Linked DNA regions of Homo sapiens: regions 2, 3, 4, 5 and 6 are each linked to region 1. Evidence: promoter capture Hi-C in 16 types of primary human blood cells and fetal thymus (Javierre and others, 2016). All regions are on one chromosome and are shown on one strand. The core of a region is centred on a gene start or on the middle of the fragment in contact, and the rest is flanking DNA. Distances in the headings are between cores, read along the strand shown.

Evidence for each region. The method cuts DNA at HindIII sites, captures the fragments that hold promoters and counts their contacts. A CHiCAGO score of 5 or more calls a contact.
Region 2: a contact is called between a fragment that was not itself captured here and the fragment with the promoter of FAM133B in region 1, in 6 of 17 cell types (neutrophils, total CD8 T cells, erythroblasts and 3 more). The highest score is 6.7, in neutrophils.
Region 3: a fragment that was not itself captured here is called in contact with the fragment with the promoter of FAM133B in region 1 in 15 of 17 cell types (activated CD4 T cells, naive CD4 T cells, total CD4 T cells and 12 more); the score reaches 12.4 in activated CD4 T cells.
Region 4: a contact is called between a fragment that was not itself captured here and the fragment with the promoter of FAM133B in region 1, in 7 of 17 cell types (M0 macrophages, activated CD4 T cells, endothelial precursors and 4 more). The highest score is 6.5, in M0 macrophages.
Region 5: a fragment that was not itself captured here is called in contact with the fragment with the promoter of FAM133B in region 1 in 1 of 17 cell types (total CD8 T cells); the score reaches 5.0 in total CD8 T cells.
Region 6: a contact is called between a fragment that was not itself captured here and the fragment with the promoter of FAM133B in region 1, in 2 of 17 cell types (activated CD4 T cells and neutrophils). The highest score is 7.0, in activated CD4 T cells.

Annotation. Positions count from the first base shown.
Region 1 is chr7:92,588,827-92,592,043 of GRCh38, reverse strand. It overlaps FAM133B (family with sequence similarity 133 member B), which reads left to right and starts at 1,654. Exons shown (of 11, transcript NM_152789.4): 1 at 1,654-1,776. The coding sequence starts at 1,753. It overlaps LOC105375397 (a long non-coding RNA gene), which reads left to right. Exons shown (of 3, transcript XR_927744.3): 3 at 1-24. RefSeq lists enhancers at 1,497-1,776, 1,867-1,926. The HindIII fragment of the contact is 8,062 bases long and covers 1-2,817 here.
Region 2 is chr7:93,084,921-93,088,137 of GRCh38, reverse strand. No RefSeq gene overlaps it. Among named protein-coding and RNA genes, the nearest start is that of SAMD9, 31 kb to the left of the region's middle. The HindIII fragment of the contact is 3,136 bases long and covers 9-3,144 here.
Region 3 is chr7:93,039,984-93,043,200 of GRCh38, reverse strand. No RefSeq gene overlaps it. Among named protein-coding and RNA genes, the nearest start is that of SAMD9, 76 kb to the left of the region's middle. RefSeq lists an enhancer at 2,122-2,636. The HindIII fragment of the contact is 6,307 bases long and covers 1-3,217 here.
Region 4 is chr7:93,023,318-93,026,534 of GRCh38, reverse strand. No RefSeq gene overlaps it. Among named protein-coding and RNA genes, the nearest start is that of SAMD9, 93 kb to the left of the region's middle. RefSeq lists an enhancer at 3,064-3,217. The HindIII fragment of the contact is 663 bases long and covers 1,259-1,921 here.
Region 5 is chr7:92,899,037-92,902,253 of GRCh38, reverse strand. The region is part of intron 1 of CDK6-AS1 (CDK6 antisense RNA 1); the gene reads right to left. Among named protein-coding and RNA genes, the nearest start is that of CDK6, 64 kb to the right of the region's middle. The HindIII fragment of the contact is 405 bases long and covers 1,531-1,935 here.
Region 6 is chr7:92,873,794-92,877,010 of GRCh38, reverse strand. All of the region lies in intron 1 of CDK6-AS1 (CDK6 antisense RNA 1), which reads right to left. Among named protein-coding and RNA genes, the nearest start is that of CDK6, 39 kb to the right of the region's middle. The HindIII fragment of the contact is 1,032 bases long and covers 923-1,954 here.

The sequences.
Region 1 (3,217 bases), core at 405-2,904:
TCTGTGTTCTGTACAATCAGCCAACCAAGGAAGTGAAAGGTAAGAAGGAGCTGAAGAGGGAAAAAAAAAACTATATTCTCTCACAGGTATTATCATGCTTATCATGTTGGAGTATTAAAAATAATATCTGTCAAATGCCTAGAATATTTAAAACATGAAAAATAAGCCAGGAAAGAAAGAATAACTTAATATTAATAGGTTCTCCTCTTCCTCTTGTGTATAAAAAGAAGCCTGTCTTCAGTCAGAGTCCCCAGCTTAAGTCGGGGGTAATGGAGGAGGAGGAGAAATGAGAGACTGGAGGCCTCATTTTGGAAAGTGGGTTACTGAGGAAGAATCAACACTTAGTAGGGAGCAGAACCACCAAGGACTGCATGTGAGAGTTTGGAAAAGTTTTGAGACAGAAGATGGTAGTTGGGAGCATCTGTCATATAGTGTAGCATGAAAAATGCAGGGAGGGAGGGAGGCAGAGATCGGGAAAGATGATTTTAAAGCATGTTCTTGTATGTAATTAGTGTAATTCCCATTTTGCCATTTCCAAGAGTCCGGAGAAGATCCTAATTGATTTTCAACTACTTCCTAATGATACTTGCTAAGATGAACCCAGAGGGGTCGCTTTATCTATAAATACTTACTAAATATGATTATCTTCTCTGGAGCCCAGATCATCTTCCTTAAAGTTGCAGTGCAGTAGTGCCAATATTACGATATGCTATGCAGTAAAGTTGGCCCTGTGTGTGTTTATTGCCCTTACGAGTTTATAAACAGGCTCCTTGACGATAGGGATTTTTCTTAATCATCTTTGTGCCCTACCCAGCTCCAGCTTCCAGCCACCCAGTTAGTGAAAACTGTACAAACTACATGTTCAAAAATTAGTGTGAAATGAATGCACAGGTGATGAATGAATGGGATTGAAATTAAAGGGTGATTTCGTTAGCAGCGTCTATGACAGCACTGCCTTTCCCCCCACCAGCTGATGGGCTCCGTGAGGGACCAAGGCTCTTTGGTCCTCACTTTGTCCCCAGCACTTGCACTCTGTCAAGCACAAAATAAGCATCGGGAGAATCTTTGTGTCCCCTCGAATGAGTATTTCAGTGTATCAAGAATGGAAGAAAGGCCAAGCGCAGTGGCTCATGCCTGTAATCCCAGCACTTTGGGTCGAGGCGGGCGGATCACTTGAGGTCAGGAGTTATAGACCAGCCTGGCCAACGTGGTAAAACCCTGTCTCTACTAAAAATACAAAAAATTTAGCCCGGCGTGTTGACGGCCGCCTGTAATCTCAGCTACTCGGGATGCTGAGGCAGGAAAATCGCTTGAACCCGGGAGGTGGAGGCTGCAGTGAGCCTAGATCGTGCCACTGCACTCCAGCCTGGGCGACGGAGCGAGAGTCTGTCTAAAAAAAAAAAAAAAAAAAAAAAAAAAAAAAAGAATGGAAGAAAGCAAAACAATCCAAGGCCAAACTGAAGCGAGCTGCCTTGGTGGGGCTCCGGTGCAGAAGCGCAGCGTCGCCTGCTCTTGGGTGCCTAATGAACGACCGGACTCCTGCAGGCGCTCCGCCAACTGCAGCGATCTCTGGAGCCGGCCTGTCCTCCACAGAGATAGGGGGCGCTGTAGCAGAGCGCGGCCGTCGAGTCCGCGTGGTGCCGCTCTCTAGGCGGAGTGGGGAGGCGGCAAGAGGACCTGCGGCAGGCCCTCTTCGGCAGTCTCTCCGGCCCGGTTTCCCTCGGCGTGCTACTGTGCGCTCGATCCAGCACCATGGGGAAGCGGGACAATCGGGTGGTGAGTACTCAGCCGGGAAAACAGTGGGGCGACGCAGGGCCCGGCGGCAGGACAGCGAGAACCCTCGCTGTTCCCGGCCGGGCCGGAGGGCAAGCGGCAGCCCTCAGACGTGGGGCCTGGAGACCCAGCACCCTCCGCCGATCCCAGATGCGCGTGCGCCGCGCACGCAGTTGGCGCTTTAGGGTTCCCAGCTCTCTCTTGCCCGCCCCTTTTTTCTTCCCTCACCTCGTCGCTCTTTCTGGCGCTGCTGGTTTGCACTCTTGCCTGCTGTACGCGGGCCCCCAGTGCCCACTTAGAACCGCGAGGGCTCGGGGAACCCCCCCCACACCTGGCCCCGCCATGTAACTCCGAAGACTTAGGCCCTTGGACGCATCCGACTCACCCGCCCCTTGGTATCGGCCGCCCCAGGTCCGCACCCCTCTCCTGCGCACCCAAGTGGGAGGGAGGCACAGAGGCCTCGACGCGGTCCCTGTGCCGGAGAGCCAGCAGCGCGCCTGGTTTTAGCGACAAGCAGGCTCCCGTTTGAAAATGGGATGGCAGCATTTGCTTTCGTGTCTCCAGCGCCCTGTAGGACCTGGCCCCCATAGACACTGTGAGGGAATGAATGGCGTGAAAATAGTTGGCTTTCGAGTCCAACACAAAACTGGAATGTCAGTTTTGTTCCGTCGGAAGTTGGGTGACCTAGAACAAGTTACTTTTCTTCTCTGTGCCGTCGTTTATAAAAGGGGATCATTATTATCTACAACCTTACAGATTAATTGAAATCACAAAAGGCAAGATGTGTGAGCGAGTACTGGGCATGAAAATTATTACTCTAGTGAATGAGATAAAAGAGATGCATAAATAACTTACAGCAGAAAGAGTAGGAAATGGTCCTTGATAGTTGTTAGAGATTCTAAAGGCATTCAAAAGAAAAGGTGCTTTTGAGAAGCGGAGATGGGAGGAAAGTATTCTAGACCGCTGGGGCGGGGAGGGGGCTGAAAAACTCAGGTTATGAATCAGATTGAATGAGTAGTAAACATAATGAAATAACAATAAGCTTAGGTTGCAGCCTGACAATTTCTGGGCTTGCCTGTGACAAAGTTTTAGCCACTGAGTAGCAAAATGAGGAAAATGCACGTAAAACGAATGTGCTACGTTTCTTGAACTCGCTTTTTTATTCAACAATTATTTGCAAGCTGTGTGTGTCTCACACCAAAGGAGACTTAACATTTACGAAATGATGACACTTGCCATCTGTAGTAGCCAGTTCTTGCATGGCTTTTATAAAGAAAAACCTGAGGCTGGGTAATTTATAAAGAAAAGTGTTTAATTGGCTCACGGTTCTATGGGCTGTACAGGAAGCTTAGCGGCATCTGCTTCTGGGGAGGCCTCAGGGAGCTGTTACTCATGGTGGAAGGCAAAGCAGGAGCAGGCGTCTTACATGGCAGGAGCGGGACCA
Region 2 (3,217 bases), core at 327-2,826, 500 kb before region 1:
AAAAAGCTTCATGCAGCAAGGAAATAATCAGCAAAGTGAAGAGACAACCTACAGAATGGGAAAAAGTATTTGCAAACTATTCAACTGACAAGTGATTAATATCCAGACTATGTAAGGAACTCAAACAACTCAATAACAAAATAACAAATAATCTGATTTTTAAATGGGCAAAAGATCTAAACAGACATTTCTCAAAAGAAGATATGCAAATGGCCAGCAAATGTATGAATAATGCTCAACATTACTAAGCATCACGTAAATGCAAATCAAAACCAAAACATGATATCATCTCACCCCAGTTAAAAGGACTTTTATCAGGCTGGGCATGGTGGCTCACACCTGTAATCCCATCACTTTGGGAGGCTGAGGCAGGTGGATCACTTGCGACCAGGCATTGGAGACTAGCCTGGCCCACATAGCGAAACCTCATCTCTACGAAAAAAAAAATACAAAAAAAATTTAGCCAGGTGTGGTGGTGCACACTGTAATCCCAGCTACTTGGGAGGCTGAGGCACAAGAATCACTTGAATCCAAGAGGCAGAGGTTGCAGTAAGTCAAGATTGCGCCACTGCACTCCAGCCTGGGCAACAGAGCAAGACTCAAAAAAAAAAAAAAAAAAAAAAGACAAAAAACAATTTTGGTGAGAATGCAGACAAAGGAGAAGCCTCATACACTGTTGGTGGATATGTAAATTAGTATGGCCACTATGGTAAGTAGCATGGCGGTTCCTAAAAAAACTAAAAATAGAACTACCATACGATTCAAAAATACCACTATTGGGTATATGTCCAAAAGAAAGGAAATTGGTGTGTCAAAGAAGTATCTAGACTCCCATGTTTATTGAAGCACTATTCTCAATAGCCAAGATGAGGAAGCCACATAAGTTTTCATCAACAGATGAATAAAGAAAGAAAATATATGGAGACATCTCCCTAATCTACCCAGAAGGACACAGCATTACAATACCACCTGGACCCAGTGGTGCAGCCACATCCCTAGTACCGAATCCCATATAGCACCTTATGCCCTGTGAAACAGATGGTCCTGTGCATCAGGGAAGTTGTCCCCCGAATATAGGGAGCCAAAACATGTACTCCCAAGAACCTGAGAGCCACCTGCCCAGAGCCACTTCTGTCAACACTGACCCTGACCCCTTCAACAGCAGGGCCACAAGCACCACTCAGGGACCCAAGCACTGCACTACTTGGGGCGTAACACCACCACCACCAGCAACTTCACTTCCTCCAGCAGCAGGGCCACCATGCATGCTGGCCAGGGTTTTAAGGATCAGCTCACCCAAAACCTGTTGCCACCACTGCCAGCACCCACATGTGCCACCCAGGGGTACAAAAACCAGCCCACCCAGGCCCATCACAACCACCACAACCACTGGTGCCTGAACATGCTACCCAGGGGCCTGAGGACCAGCCCACTCAGGGTCTGTCATCACCACCACTGGAAAACCCTCCCTTTCCAGAAATGGGGCCATCACACACCTGCGTGGGTCCCCCATGGTCCCAAGGACTGGCCTGCCCAGTGCCCCTGTCTCCATCAAAGCTGCATCACAACCTTCACAAATATCCACAGCTTAAGTCACTGAGAAACTCACAGACTGCACTGGTATTGATGATAGCCCAAGAGAACATACAAGGACTATACTACAGCCCCCAGGACCAAAGCCAAAGCACCCCACCCAACTGACACTATAGATACATGTATAGGGCAAAGTTTTTTCCTGCAAAAGCTACTCCATAAAATTGGAAGAGCAATTGTTACACCAGATGCACAGATATCAATGTGCATGACCAAAACAAAAAAAAGAAAAGAAAAGAAAAGAAAAAGCAAGGAAATATGACACCTCCACAAAGGAACACAATAATTCTCTAGTAACAGACCCCAGAGAAATGAGAATCCATGAAATACCTGAAAAACAATTCAAGGTAATGATCTTAAGGAAACTCAGTAAAATACAAGAGAACACAGCCAATACAAAGGAATTGGGAAAATAATTCATAATTTGATGAGAAATTCCACAAAGATATTCTTTGTTGAATAATAATAAAAAGATAATAAGATAATAAATCTTTTTATTTAAAAGATAATTAAAATATAAAAGAATTTTTATTATTATTATTTTTAAATTTTAGATTTGGTGGTACACATGCTTGTTTGTTACATGGGTATATTGCACACTGGGATTGAGCATCTAGTGTACTCATTACCCAAATAGCAAATATTATACCTGATAGGTAATTTTTCAACCCTTATTCCCATCATACCCTCTCCCTTTTGGAGTCCCCAATGTCTATTATTTCCATCTTTATGTTCATGTGTACTCATTGTTTACCTGCCTCTTATAACTGAGAACATGTGGTATTTGACTTACTGTTTCTGAGTTAGTTTACTTAGGATAATGGCCTCCAGCTCCACCCATGTTGCTGCAAAAACCATGATTTCATTCTTTTTATGGCTGAGTAGTATTCCGTGGTGTATATATGCCACATTTTCTTTAATGATTCAACTGTCAATGGACACTTAGGTTGGTTCCATGACTTTGCTATTGTGAATAGTGCTGCAATGAACATACAAGTACGGGTGTCTTTTCTATATAATGATTTCTCTTGCTTTGAGTAAACACCCAGTACTGGATTTACTGGGTCAAATGGTAGCTCTATTTTTAGTTGTTTGATAAATCTCCATACTATTTTCCATAGAGGTTGAACTAATTTACATTCCCACCAACAATGTATAAGTGTTCCCTTTGCTCTGAATCCATGCCAGCATCTTTTGCATTTTGATTTTTTAATGATAGCCATTCTGACTGGTGTAAGATGATATTCTTATTGAAGTTTTAATTTGTATTTATCTGATAATTAGTGATGCTGAACATTTTTATGTGTTTGTTAGCTGTTTGTATGTCTTCTTTTAGGAAATGGCTGTTCACATCCTTTGCCTAGCCTTTAATGGGGTTGTTTTTGGCTTTTTTTTTTTTTTTTCTTATTGAGTTGTTTGAGTGAGTTCCTTGTAAATTCTGGATATTAGTCCTTTGTCAGAGGCATAATTTGTGAATATTTTCTCCAATTCTGTAGGTGGTCTGCTTACTCTGTTAATTATTTCTTTGTTGCTTATTTCTTTGCAAAAGCTTTTTAGTTTAATTAAGTCCTATGTGTCTATTTCTTTTTCTTGAAGTTGCTCTTGGGGTCTTTAAAAAAAATTC
Region 3 (3,217 bases), core at 186-2,685, 450 kb before region 1:
TTAAAAAGAAGGTAGAACTAACGCATTTTCGAAAAAAGCAAACATCAGGGAATGTGCAGTTTGTTACAACATATCTATCCATGATTCCATTTTGGGGGAATTTATATGAAGATATCCCACAATCGGGCAATCGCCAAACAAGAAAGCATCCTTAATTGAGTTGAAACTGGGGGTAAGGGGACAGAAAAATCGCCCCCATAAAATAATTTCAAATTCAGCCTTGTGTTTCCCAGTAATTGGGCTGTCTGAGGATGAGACTGGGAGTGGAAAAATCCAAGTTAGTCTTAGAGCTGCACTTCTCAAAAGTGGCTGCAAAGGCTTTGAGGTGGTCAGTGATTTGTGTTTATTTACAACAATGCTTTAATTAATCATATTTAATAAGATTTGATATCACTTCATCGGTGGCTAAGCAAAATATTAATTATGATTTAGTTTGTTGACTTACCACTATCAAGAACTTGGATGATGATTTTTTTTAAATCATTTTATCTCTCTGTGCCTTTTCTATGCTTCAGAAGTGACAATGGCATGTTTAAGAGTCTAGGAAACATTTGAGCCTGGGATGAAAAGTCAGATACTGAAGACCCAGTTGTACACATAATGCATTTTTAGAGAAGATACATAAAAATGGACATCCAGCCAGGTGTAGTGGATCATGCCTGTAATCTTACCACTTTAGGAGGCCAAGACAGGAGGATTGCTTGAGGGCAGGAATTTTAGACCAGCCTGGGCAGTATAGCAAGACCCCATCTCTACAAAAAAAAAAAAAGAGAGAGAAAGAGAAAAAAAATGGACATCACTTACAAAGTACACTCTCAATAGCAGATATGCTCTATCTTTAAAAAAAGTTTTGAATTATTAATGTATCACCTTCTTGTTAAAGAAAACAATACCAAAATGTTTAAAATTAAAAGTAAAAATTACCTCCATTCCCACTCCCCTGGAATAATCACTTACAAATCCAACAAGTATCTTTCCAGTCTTTTTAAACACACAAACACATATACTGTATAATATATATGTGTATAAAATATATGTGTGTATTGCATATGCTTGTATACATGCAATATACATTTAATGTACCTATAGAGAGAGGATCGCTTCTTTTTAATGGGATCTTGTTAAACATATTGTTCTATAACTTCCTTTTTACTCAGAAATGTAATCATGAATAGCCTTTAATACCAGTATTATATTATTTGTAGTGGCTCCATAATATTCCAGAATATCAGTGTATGTTTTATTTAGTCCTTCCCATATTTATGGTCATTAAAGTTATCCCAAATTCTTCAGTAATATCAATAATGCTGCCATAAACATCCTTGCATATATATCATAAATTTTAAATATATATTTAAATGCAGCTGTTTTTGTTGTTGTTTTTTGTTTTTGTTTTTGTTTTTGTTTTTTGCCTCTGTGGAAACTGGAACTGTCAACTGAGAAGGGAAAGGCAGCACGAAATGAAGTATAAGTGTTGCATAAAGAATAAAGGCTCAAGTTGCAAAGCAGTGAGTTGGAGTTGGCTTATAGGAACAGAAAGCAGACTCATTAAAAATTGCATTTTGATGTATAATATATTTTTTTCAAAGTCATGAGGCTCTATGTTCTCACAATGTCTTCTTTCAGATAACATACCTGTAGGTGTGCACAACTCCGTCTCCAACTTTGTAACTGAACTGGGCATGGAGTTGGGTTCACTTTGTAACTTTGAAATCTTGATGAGCAGCACAGGAGCCATCATGGCTTCTCTGTAGCTAAGGAGACTGCAGTAGTTGCTACAACCAGTAGCTATATTTGGCTCTATTTCTCAAGCACTGAAATTGAAAATAAAGAAGTATTTTTCCTTCACTTTGATCTCCTTTCTATCTTGCTTTCTTTTATTGTATATTCTTTTTGAAAGTCACCTCATATTCTTACTGATTGGGTCTAGAGTCATTCCTTTATCCATTCACTTATTGATGTACATTGATACATGTACTGAAATACATCAAGTAGAGCTCATTTACCTTCATTATACCAGGAAAAAAAATCACCATTTACCATCTGGGGCCAATAAACCCTTTAAATTTTTTAAAATATTTTCAAAAATATTTTTAAGTCATTTTGCAAATAATTGATAGAAGTAAGAATAAGGGATAGTAAAAAAAAAAGTTAGAAATGTTAATAAGAATTTAAGCATAGCAAATTTAAATTTTCCATATTTTCCTGCTTTTGAAGGTATCTATACCCAAAATAGACGACGTCTTTAAAATTCAACTAACTGCCATACCTATCATGCAGGAGCCTGCAGCATATCCATAGTGTAAATATTGATTCCTGATTTCAAATAACTCTTTAATAGGTTTTAGCATATTCATGGTTCTGCTCTGTTTGGCCTTATCAAAATGTGACACATTTGAAATTTTTAACAAACCAGAATTGTGTTGGCATTGTCACAGGATTCTTAGGGTATTGCTTCGCCAGCCGGAAATCTCTGTGGCCGGTGGTGCCTTTGCCTAAGTTTTGCTTGGGCCTGCTGGGCCCACTCAGCCTGGCAGGCTGCACTCAACTCGTGCTACTGGCCTGGATCCCATGCCTGCCAAGGGTGAGCAGAGCGGTGAGGGGTGTGTGGGTAAGTGAGGTGTCCGGCCACTGCGCACAGCCAGGCATGCTGGCGGCAGTGGGGGCAGGGAACTCCAGGAGCCAGCACAGGTGTCGGCTCCCTGCAAGGCTGCAGCTGGACTAGCCTTGCATACTGCATACTGCAAGCAGCTTCCACGGCTGGCACCAAGGAATGCACTGGTGCCCAAAAACTTGGAGACAGCAGGAATTGCTGAGCCCCAAAGGAGGTGTCACAGCCCTGGCTTGGGGAGCTCCCAGGTCTGAGCTCCCCAAAGGGTCGCATTTCTTCTCTCCTTCTCTCTGCTGTCCTTCTTGTTGCCTACAATGTGGCGAGCAAGGGGCACATTTCAGCCCTGTGTTATAGCTCTGTTGACCCTGCCATTTGGTGGGTCCCGAGTTCTTGTCTTGCATCCAGGAAGAATGAGGTACATGGACAAAGGAGGGTGAGCAAGGCAAAGCAGGAGCTTTATTGAGTGATAAAACAGCTCAGAGGAGACCCACAGTGGATAGCTCCTCTCCACAGCCAGGGTGTCCTGATGAGTGTTCAGCTGTCAGCAGAGAGGAAACCCTAGGGTGGGTAGTTCCTCTCTGCAGCTGGTCATCCTGTCATCTTTTT
Region 4 (3,217 bases), core at 341-2,840, 430 kb before region 1:
GATCCTCACTTCTATGACATCCTGGATTGACCTCCCACCCTCCAGAAAGATCACCTCAACTCAGCAAAGAAGTCTTTTGTGATGGAGAGTACATCCCCACGTTTCTAATCCAAGGTCTAGAACTTATATCAAAGGTGAAACTGGCCTCTCACATTGTTTTCTGCGTTGGACAGAAGTGGAAAATAACAGATGATTGTCAGCACATACTTGAAAGCAAATGCCATATACTTCCAGGACACATCCAAAAATCTTACAATGTTTAGTTGTTTTCGTCTGTGTGTGAGTCTGAATACACAGTATTATATTTCAGTGAGCCTCTTGCTATAGGATGTACCTGATCTCTAATGCCCACTCTCTTCCCAGCATAACCAGTCCTGATACCATCCTAATAGCATTCCTAGTATAAAAGTCCATGGGCCCTGTGGGAGCCTACAATAGGCAGGTAACCAGGTCCTGAAGACCCAGGCATGAGTGTCCCTCATTCATGTGGGACTTTCTCATGGGAATCCATCTCTTACTCTTCTCTGCTGCACCAAAGCCTGATTATTCTTCCCTTTCCCTGTTGCCCTTTGCCCACCCTTCTTCTCCTTTTTTTCTTGCAATCTAAGGGTCAGATTATTACGAGGTTTTGTAGTTTTGTCATAAAAATGTGATTCAAATTTGCTTCAAGAGCTGGCTAATTGTTTTCATAAAATAACTTAATCCACATCCTTTTCAGATTCTAAATCAGAAAATAAATCATAAGCCATTTTCAGATAAAAGGCAAAATCTAAGCTGCCAGGACTGTCACCCATAGAGATTTGTGTGTCGCCACTTGGTTTAGTGGAAAAAGCTCAGGGCTAGAAATTCAAATGCTGGTTCTTCTGCCTGCCAGTAAATGACATTAACCTAAGCCTCAGTTTCCTCTGAGTAAAATGAGCATAAAAGCCACATCACAGAGTGATGTCGAGGATTAAATGGGACTGAAAGAAAAAAATCTCTTTAAGTGCTCCTATCACACAGTGCCACATAAGCACCACAGGAGAAGGAGCTGTTAGTACTTATGTGTTCTAAATCCTTTAAAAAAATTATCAGATTTGGAGAATAGTTAAACTACATATTGTACAAGATTTAGTAGCCCTTCAAAAGTTTCAAAGATTTTGTTTAATTTATAAGAAAAGTTTGTTTTTATATAATCTCTTTTTAGGATTTCATTTTAGGTGAAATGTGGTAGTCTCATGCAAAGCACCTAGTAAAGGTTTAAATAATTTTGTAAGCTTTTTGTAATTATATTAGCTTTTTGTATTTTCTAACTTATTAATAGAGGGAAATAGAAGTACATTCTTTTGATTGCTGAAGAAGAGAAACTTTTTCAATAAAATTATCAAGAAAATAGCCAATTTCCTCTTTTCTAGGATATCCATTTTTATTGAATGATCCCAGTGCTTAGTCAAGCCATAAATGGATATTTTACTGAATTTGAGCCTCAGCTGCTTTAGGGAGCCAGTCTGCAATCTCGAATCTCAACCAAGAGGTCATTTGATCTTAGAGCTGCTTGTGTGTGATTATTTTCAACCTATTAGAATGCTCTTTTACTTAGAAATTAAATTATCTTTTTTTATGTTTTAATCCATATTCACCATCATTCCTCCCAATCTCCTAGTTCCCCTAAAACTCTCTTATCCCCCATTCCTACCAAACTATAAAATGGAATGTAGTAATTTGTGAACATGAAGATGCCTAACGTTTACTTTCCCATCCTACACGGTTGCCAGTATTTAACATTCCACTATTAGCCTTTTTTTAATTTGTAAGATTCAAAGTTCCGTGAGTGCAGAGACAATATCAGCTTCTAATGCTACCGTACATATACGGCATGCTTACCACAGTGCTTCACACTCAGTAGGTGCTCAATGAAGGTTTGCTGAATGAAGGGAAAGCTTTTAGCCTTCTTTCATTTAATCACGCAGATACCTTCAGAAACACAGAGTCTGCAGATCCATCAAATGTACCTTAACTGACTCAAAGTATTTAAATGCCACCATGTACCACAACCGTGCTATCTCCTTCCCATAATGCACTTAGCAGCTACGATGAAATTTGTTTTTCTGATGCTTTTCTGATAGCAGGTTTCACATGCAGGGAGGGAGAGGATGTGTGTGGGACATGGGACATCTTGGGAGGGAGAACCATACAAGGGAAAACCAAGAATAAGAACAGCTTTCTTTTACCAAGTCTTAACTAGGTGGCAGAACTATCTCATTTGACATTCATGCCAGCATTTTGAGGTTATTTCCATTTGTCAGATAAGGAAACTAAGGCTTATGGATGTTAAGGAACCCTCAAGGTCATACAGCTAATAGGTGGCAAGGCTATACTTTGAAATGGTTTTCTGACCCCAGATCCTTGTCTCCGGCCACAGTGCTTCTGGTGTTTACTTCCCCCAAGGGACAGAGGGCTCCCTAGACAAGGTGAAATGGGGGTAGAAGCACGGAAGAGTGTGAACTGCTGGTGCCATGAGACCAGAACCTCATCCACCGCATAACGCTGTTCAGAGCAGGCTCTGTTCAGGCAGAGAGGTAATTAATAGTCACAGAGTTTAATTATCCAGTTTCACTCTTTCTAACTAAAAGTCATTTGGGATCTACTGAGGATATTAGACAACATGTTCACTCTTAGGGGCTCATAACTATACTGTGGAATTCATGCAGGAAATAGCACAGGTCCTGAGATTTAGAACTATTTTGGCAAATACATATTAGCTATAATATGAGAACTACGTGACCCCCACCTTTGAGGTTAACTCCGCTGCTTACTTCAGTGGTTTCCTAGTTTTCTAAGAAAGCAACGGACAAATGCTGGAACGCTATCTGTGTGTAGGGTAGCACTCACAAGATGTCCCACGCTGTCCACATAGGTGCTGAGGCTTTAAACCAGGCCAAAAAATGACTGCATTAAGAAGTGGACGCCAGAAGCAGAGAGGCCTTTCTGCCTAGTGAGATGCAGACATACTGAGACGTGAAGCCAGCTAGGCTTCTGGGTCTGGTGGGGACTTGGAGAACTTTTCTGTCTAGCTAGAGGATTGTAAACACACCAATCAGCACTCTGTGTCTAGCTAAAGGTTTGTAAATGCACCAATCAGCACTCTGTAAAAACGCACCAATCAGTGCTCTGTGTCTAGCTAAAGGTTTGTAAATGCGCCAATCAGCACTCTAAAAATGCACCAACCAGTGCTCTG
Region 5 (3,217 bases), core at 484-2,983, 310 kb before region 1:
AAAGCCCTTACTCAAGTGACCTTAAATAAGGGAGATTATCTTAAATAATCTGAGTAAACCCGATTAAATCAGTTGAAAAGCCTTAAAAGTGGGACCGAGGCTTCTCCCAAAGGAATATGAAGTTTCACACTATGATATTCCCTTTCTAAAGACCTTCTCTACTGATTTCAGACTTTCTTAGTAAGCCCCAACAATCACACAAGCCAATCCATATGTGTGTGTGTGTGTGTGTGTCTATCTGTATGTGTACACACACATCTCTATCTTTCTATACATGTATCTATCTATCTGCATCTATATCTGTCTATATATATGTGTATGTGTGTGTGTGTGTGTGTGTGTATTTAAATTTGAATTTGTATTTATAATTATTCTCCCTGCTGGTTCTGCTTCTCTGGTTGAACCCTGACTGATACAGTATAATATTTTTACATAGTCAATCTATCAATATTCTCATTTATAGCTGCTGGGTTTTGTGTCTTGCTGACTTAGTCTTCATATAAATATGTTTGTAAGTCATGATTATACAGAATTGGTAGTAATGGCTAAAGATTGAAAAGCCCCTTCACTCCTCTCTACTATTTCTTCCCCATCTAGAAGTAACCATTGTTAATAAGTTGGACTATATTTGTCAAGCCTATTTTTTATACAAAAAAATAGCCCGTGTGTGTGTGTGTGTGTGTGTGTGTGTGTGTGTGTAAAAGTCTACAAAGTGAGCTGGAAGAACACATCCCAACTTAATGACAATGATTACATGTAAATGAGAAAAAAGTGGTAGACAGAAGTGAAAAGGGACTTTCAGCATTTTGTACTTTTGATTGTCTAAATCTTAGATAATGAGAATCTATTTGTATTTAAGTGATTTTTATATTAAAAAAACTTCATAAAAATTATTAATAATGATTCCATGATTCCAATATTTCAAATTTGGGTAAGCCAAGAGATAATGGTTCCATTGAGATAAATAAAAATGCCAAAAACCAGATGTTTACTTCAAGAATTACAAACTCCAAAGCCATGCTTAAATGCATAATAAAAGACAATAGGAAGATTGAATGTGGTGTCTAGCTAGGAGCACATGCTTGACCTAACTTTCAAAAGTCTACGGACAAATAAAACATATCTACAGGCCAAATTTGGCTTTTGGGCCATAGCTGTGTAACCCTTCCAACGATATAGGAAAAGAAGAGGTTGATTTCAAATCAAGAACGATAGAATTTGAGCCTTAGAGATGTTTTTAAAATCATAAAAGCTAAGACTCCAGTAAAAACAACAGCATAATTTGGTAAGAACTTGTTCCTTTTGAAAGGTGTATTATAGATACACACTCATGTTGTTTAAGAATTTCATCCTATTCTGATTTAATTTTGGCTGAAGGGCTGGAGCAATACAAAATTCTCTTCATCTACTTTCAGATAAATAGGAAGAGACACATTTCTCATAAAGACAATTTAGTAAGAGCTCTATTAAGTTTAGGAAACTGAGAAATGGCAAATTTTGAATTTTACAGTGTGACATTTAATAGAAGCTTCCATTAGAAATACCATACTTAATATCAAATGTTTTTTTTTAAAAATGAGGGACAGCAACATGGCCAGGACTCAGCATTTATCTCACACTTGTCAAGGTATAACTGTTGAGCAGACACTGTAATGGATAACAGCCCACAAATGTTTACAGACCAAAAATTAATCAATGTAATACATCATATCAATACAATAAAGAACAAAACATGATCATCTCACATGATCATCTCAATAGAAAAGGGAAACATTTCACACAATGCAAGACTAAAATATTGTTTATAAAAAACTAGGAATGGAAGGGAACTTTCTCAGCTTGATAAAGTGCATATATGAAAAACCCACAGTTAATACATGTTGAGCATCCCAAATCTGAAAGTCCAAAATCCAAAATGCCCTAAAATCCAAAGCTTTTTGAGTGCTGACATCACGCTCAAAGGAAATGTTCACTGGATCATTTCAAATTTTTGGTTTTTTTATTTGGGATATTCAACTGGTAAGTACAATGCAAATATACCAAAATCCAAAAAAACAACCACCAAATCCAGAACACTTCTGATCCCAACTAGTTCAGGTAAGGTATATACAACTTGTGTAATACATAAGGGTGAAGAACTGAATGTTTTTCCCCTAAGATCAGGAACAAGACAAGAGTGATTATTCTCACTACTTCCATTTAACATTATACAAGGTGAGCCAATTAGGGGAGAAAATGAAATGAAAGCAATAAAATTTGAAAGAAAGAAGTAAAATATATGTATACATGACATGATTAAGTCATCATGATTCAGAAAATCCTAGATAATCTAGCAAAAACTATTCAAACTAATAAGTTTTGCAATGCTGCAGGATACAAGATCATTATACAAAAATCAATTGTATTTCTACACACTTGCACTGAACAATCCAAAATGAAATAAAGAAAATAATTTCATTTCTTATAGCATCAAAAATAATAAAATATTTACAAATATATTTAACAAAGGAAGTGAAAAACTTGTGTTCTGGAAAGTATAAAATATTATTGAAAGAAATTAAAGACAACCTAAATAAATGGAAAGACATACCATTTTCATAGATCAGATACCATGAATACACCCATGTTCATGGGCAATATTTCCCAAACTGATCTACAGATTCAACTCAACTATTCAAACCATTCAATGGACAAAGAATAGACTTTGTAGCAAATGGTGCTGAACCCTTGCCTCACACTATGTAGAAAAATTCACACAAAATAGATCAAAGACCTCACTGTAAGAACTACTATAGTTTCATAAAACTAGTTTACAAAATGAAAACTATAAAACTCTTAAAAGAAAATATCAGCTTAAACCTTTATAACCTTGAGTAAGAGAAAAGTTTCATAGATATGACACTAAAAGTACAAGCAACAAAGAAACACATGGATAAATTGGATTACATCAAAATTTAAAATTCTTGTGCTACAAAAGTTATCATCAAGAAAGTGAAGAGACAACCCACGAAATGGGAGAAAATATTTGCAAATCATATTTCTGATGAGAGACTTATACCTAGAATATGTATAGAAATCTTATGATTCAGAGGTGGCTGGCAAGATGGCCAAATAGCAACAGCTGCAGTATGAAGCTCCCAGTGAGATCAACACAGAAAGCAGGTGATTTCTGCATTTCCAACTGAGACAGTGGGAGCAGCCCATGGAGGGAAAGCCG
Region 6 (3,217 bases), core at 189-2,688, 290 kb before region 1:
ATCATCCCACTCTTTCCTGGCCTGCAAAGTTTCTGCTAAGAAATCTGCTGATAGCTGCATTGGGACTCCCTCTTATGTGATGAGTCTCCTTTCTCTCACTGCTTTCAGAATTCTTTTTTTGTCTTTTTCTTTTTGGTCTTTGATTTTTAATAGTCTGGTTAGGATGTATCTTGGTGAACTCCTCTTTGGGTTGAATTTTATTGGAGTTCTCTGGGCTTCTGGTACCTGGATGTTGGCATCCTTCCCCAGATTTGGGAAGTTTTCAGTTATTATTTCTTAAAATATGCTTCCTGGCCTTCTTTCTCTTCTCCTTCTGGTATTTTTGTTATGCAAAAGTCAGTTTTCTTGAAAGTACCCCCCAATTCCTATAGACTTTCTTCATTCTTTCTCATTTATTTATTTATAATTCTCTTACTATAAAATTTGAAATGGTCTCTCTTTGAGGTCACTTATTCTTTCTTCTGCTTGATTGAGTCTGCTGTTGAAGCCTTCTATTGAATTATTCTATTAAGCAACTGTCTTTTTCATTTCTATGTTTTCTATTTGGTTTTTGTTTATTTGTTTTTATTTTTTGTGAAACTTTTCATTTTTTTCATGTATTGGCTTCCAAATTTTAATTTTCTATCCTTATTTTTTTAAACAGGTCACTGAACTTCTTTAAGAGATTTATTCTGAATTCTTTGTCATTTTATAGATCTCTGTTTCTTTAGGTTCCATTGCCTTTGCTGTTAGGTTGGGTGGTACTACAGTTGGGGGCTGCAGTCCAGTGAGACCATTCACTGGACTCTGCAGTCTGGCTGACCTATTGGCCAGGCACTGTGATTACCTCTAATCCAGCAGAGTCACAGGCTGTATTCCCTGGCTGTGCAGTACTACTATTTGGATTCTAGAGTTGGACAGCCTGTGGACTGGGCTTTAAGCTTAGGCAGAGTCATTGCTTGGAATTTTCAAGACTAGAGGCTATGCTCCATAGGAATACATAGTTGAGGCTTGCCTCCTTGCCTGGGCAGAGTCTTGCGTGGGCTCTGCGACTAGGCTGAGTCACTGTTTCAACTCCCAGGTTGGGCAGGGCCAGCCCCTATGCTGTACAAAAAAAAAAAAAAACAAAAAAACAGTGGCAGGCATTTCCCTGCTAGAGCACAATCTTGAGGTAAGCTCTGAGGTAGGGCCAAGTCACTGTTTGGGCTCCCAGGTCAGGCAGGTCCAGCCCCTGTGGTCTGCAGAAATACATGATGGCATACATCTCCCTGCCTGGGTGGACCATTGTGGTAGGCTGTGAGGTTGGTTGGAGTGGCTGGCTAGGGACTCAAGCCAGGTAGAACTTCCCACTGTATTTCTGGGAGCAATCAGCTCAGCTTTGTGGGTAGGCTATAACATTGGCTTGGTATCTTTGATCAGGTGCCACCATTGGCAGGAATACACAGCTACCACCAAGATCTGTATAGTGGTTACTATGAACCCTTCCCCCTTTTTTTGTTTTTACTGGACTCCAAACGCTCTAGTCCCACCATTACCCATAGTATTCCCCCATAAGGCAAGATAGGAGTGGGTGACCCATGATGCTGGGGAAGCTGGATGTCCAACCAGGCTCACTTTTCCTACTATAGAAACCATAGGCCTGGGGAATTTCCTCTGTGTGGGACTGTGCTGACATGGTTAAAGTGAGACAGTTCCTCTTACCCTTCTAATATAGTTTTTCATTTCTGTGGTCCATGTAGGTATCTCAGTCTCATTTCCAAGTTTTGCAGTTTTCACAAAGGTGTTCTTGTCTGAATAGTTGCTAGTTGGACTTTCTGTGTGGTGGACTGAAGCCTAAGACCTCCTATTCTGCCATCTTGCTGATATTACTCCCATCCAAGTCTTTATATAAAGCCCAAACATTTCCAATTTTTTCTCCTATAGCCTCCTAACCTCAAGTTGAATTCAACATAACAAATCTAATATAACCAAAGCTTTGAACCATTCTTTGGGAGATTTGAAAGACTAGAAAACGAACCAGACCACGCTGAATTTTTTAACAGAGTCATCAGACAACCTAATGGCAAAAATGAAGTCTCAAGGGGCTTCAACTTCTGAATTGCAGCTGTATATCTGCAAGCTAAACATGGTTTCTACATTCACTTACCATAAATATTGTTGTCCCATAGTAATTATTACATGCCTACCATATGCCACGTACTGTGCTAGATGATAAAGACATAATGATTAATGCAAGGTCTCTGTTTCTGAAGAATTTCCAGATTAAAGGGAAGCAAATAATCACACTAAGTAATAGATAAAAATGCTATACAGTGGTCTGGGCTAAGTGCTGTGGGAACAGAAGGAAACAACTGACTGTATGAGTAAAGCTGAGAAAGCTTCCTGTGAAGGTGACCTTTCAGCTGGGTCTTGGGGAATGAATAGAAAATGCCTGTAATGCCCTCTAGAAATTTTTCAACACATGCGAAATTTTTGTTACGCTATTAATCTAGTGTTTTATATGCCCTTATCTGAAAACAAAGCAGAATCAAGTAAATACAAAAAAGGCACTAAATTTGCTATAAAGCTATTTAGAAAATAATGGACATGAGTATGCACTGTGAGAAATTTATGGGCATTCTTTATCCTGCATTTTTGACCAAAAAAAAAGATAATCAAGAAAATATTATATTGTTGACCCTAATTGATCTAGCAATAGTTATAATCCTTCTGTTATATGTTGCTCTATCAAACAACAGACTCATTTCTTCATAAAGGTTGGGCTAAGCTATAAAATTATTTAATTATAGAGATATAAATTGTCCCCAATATACAGTTTGTGCATGTTGATGTTAGACCTGGCTGGGTTTAATCACTCCTGGCTTAAAATTTTTCTTTTTTTTAAATGGTTTAGCAAGAGTTCCCACAACTTCCTTTGGTAATCTGTCTTTTGTCATCCATGGTCTTAGATGTCATCTGTTAAGCGAAGCAAAGTGGTATTTTAATGTGCAATTACTAGTAAAAACAAACTGGAAACCCAGAAGACTAGGGTGGGATTTCTTAAAAGCTTGAATTCCTCTGAAACAGCAGCTTATCAGCAAATGGCCTGTGAACCAGCTTTGGATCCCACATATTTTACTCCATCTCTGAATGAGCAAAGAGCTTTTATCTCAGCATGATTTATCAAGTGATTACAAAGACACTTTATTACTCGATTTCCAGGCTGACCATAACCTGCTGTGATAAATTGAAACTTCTT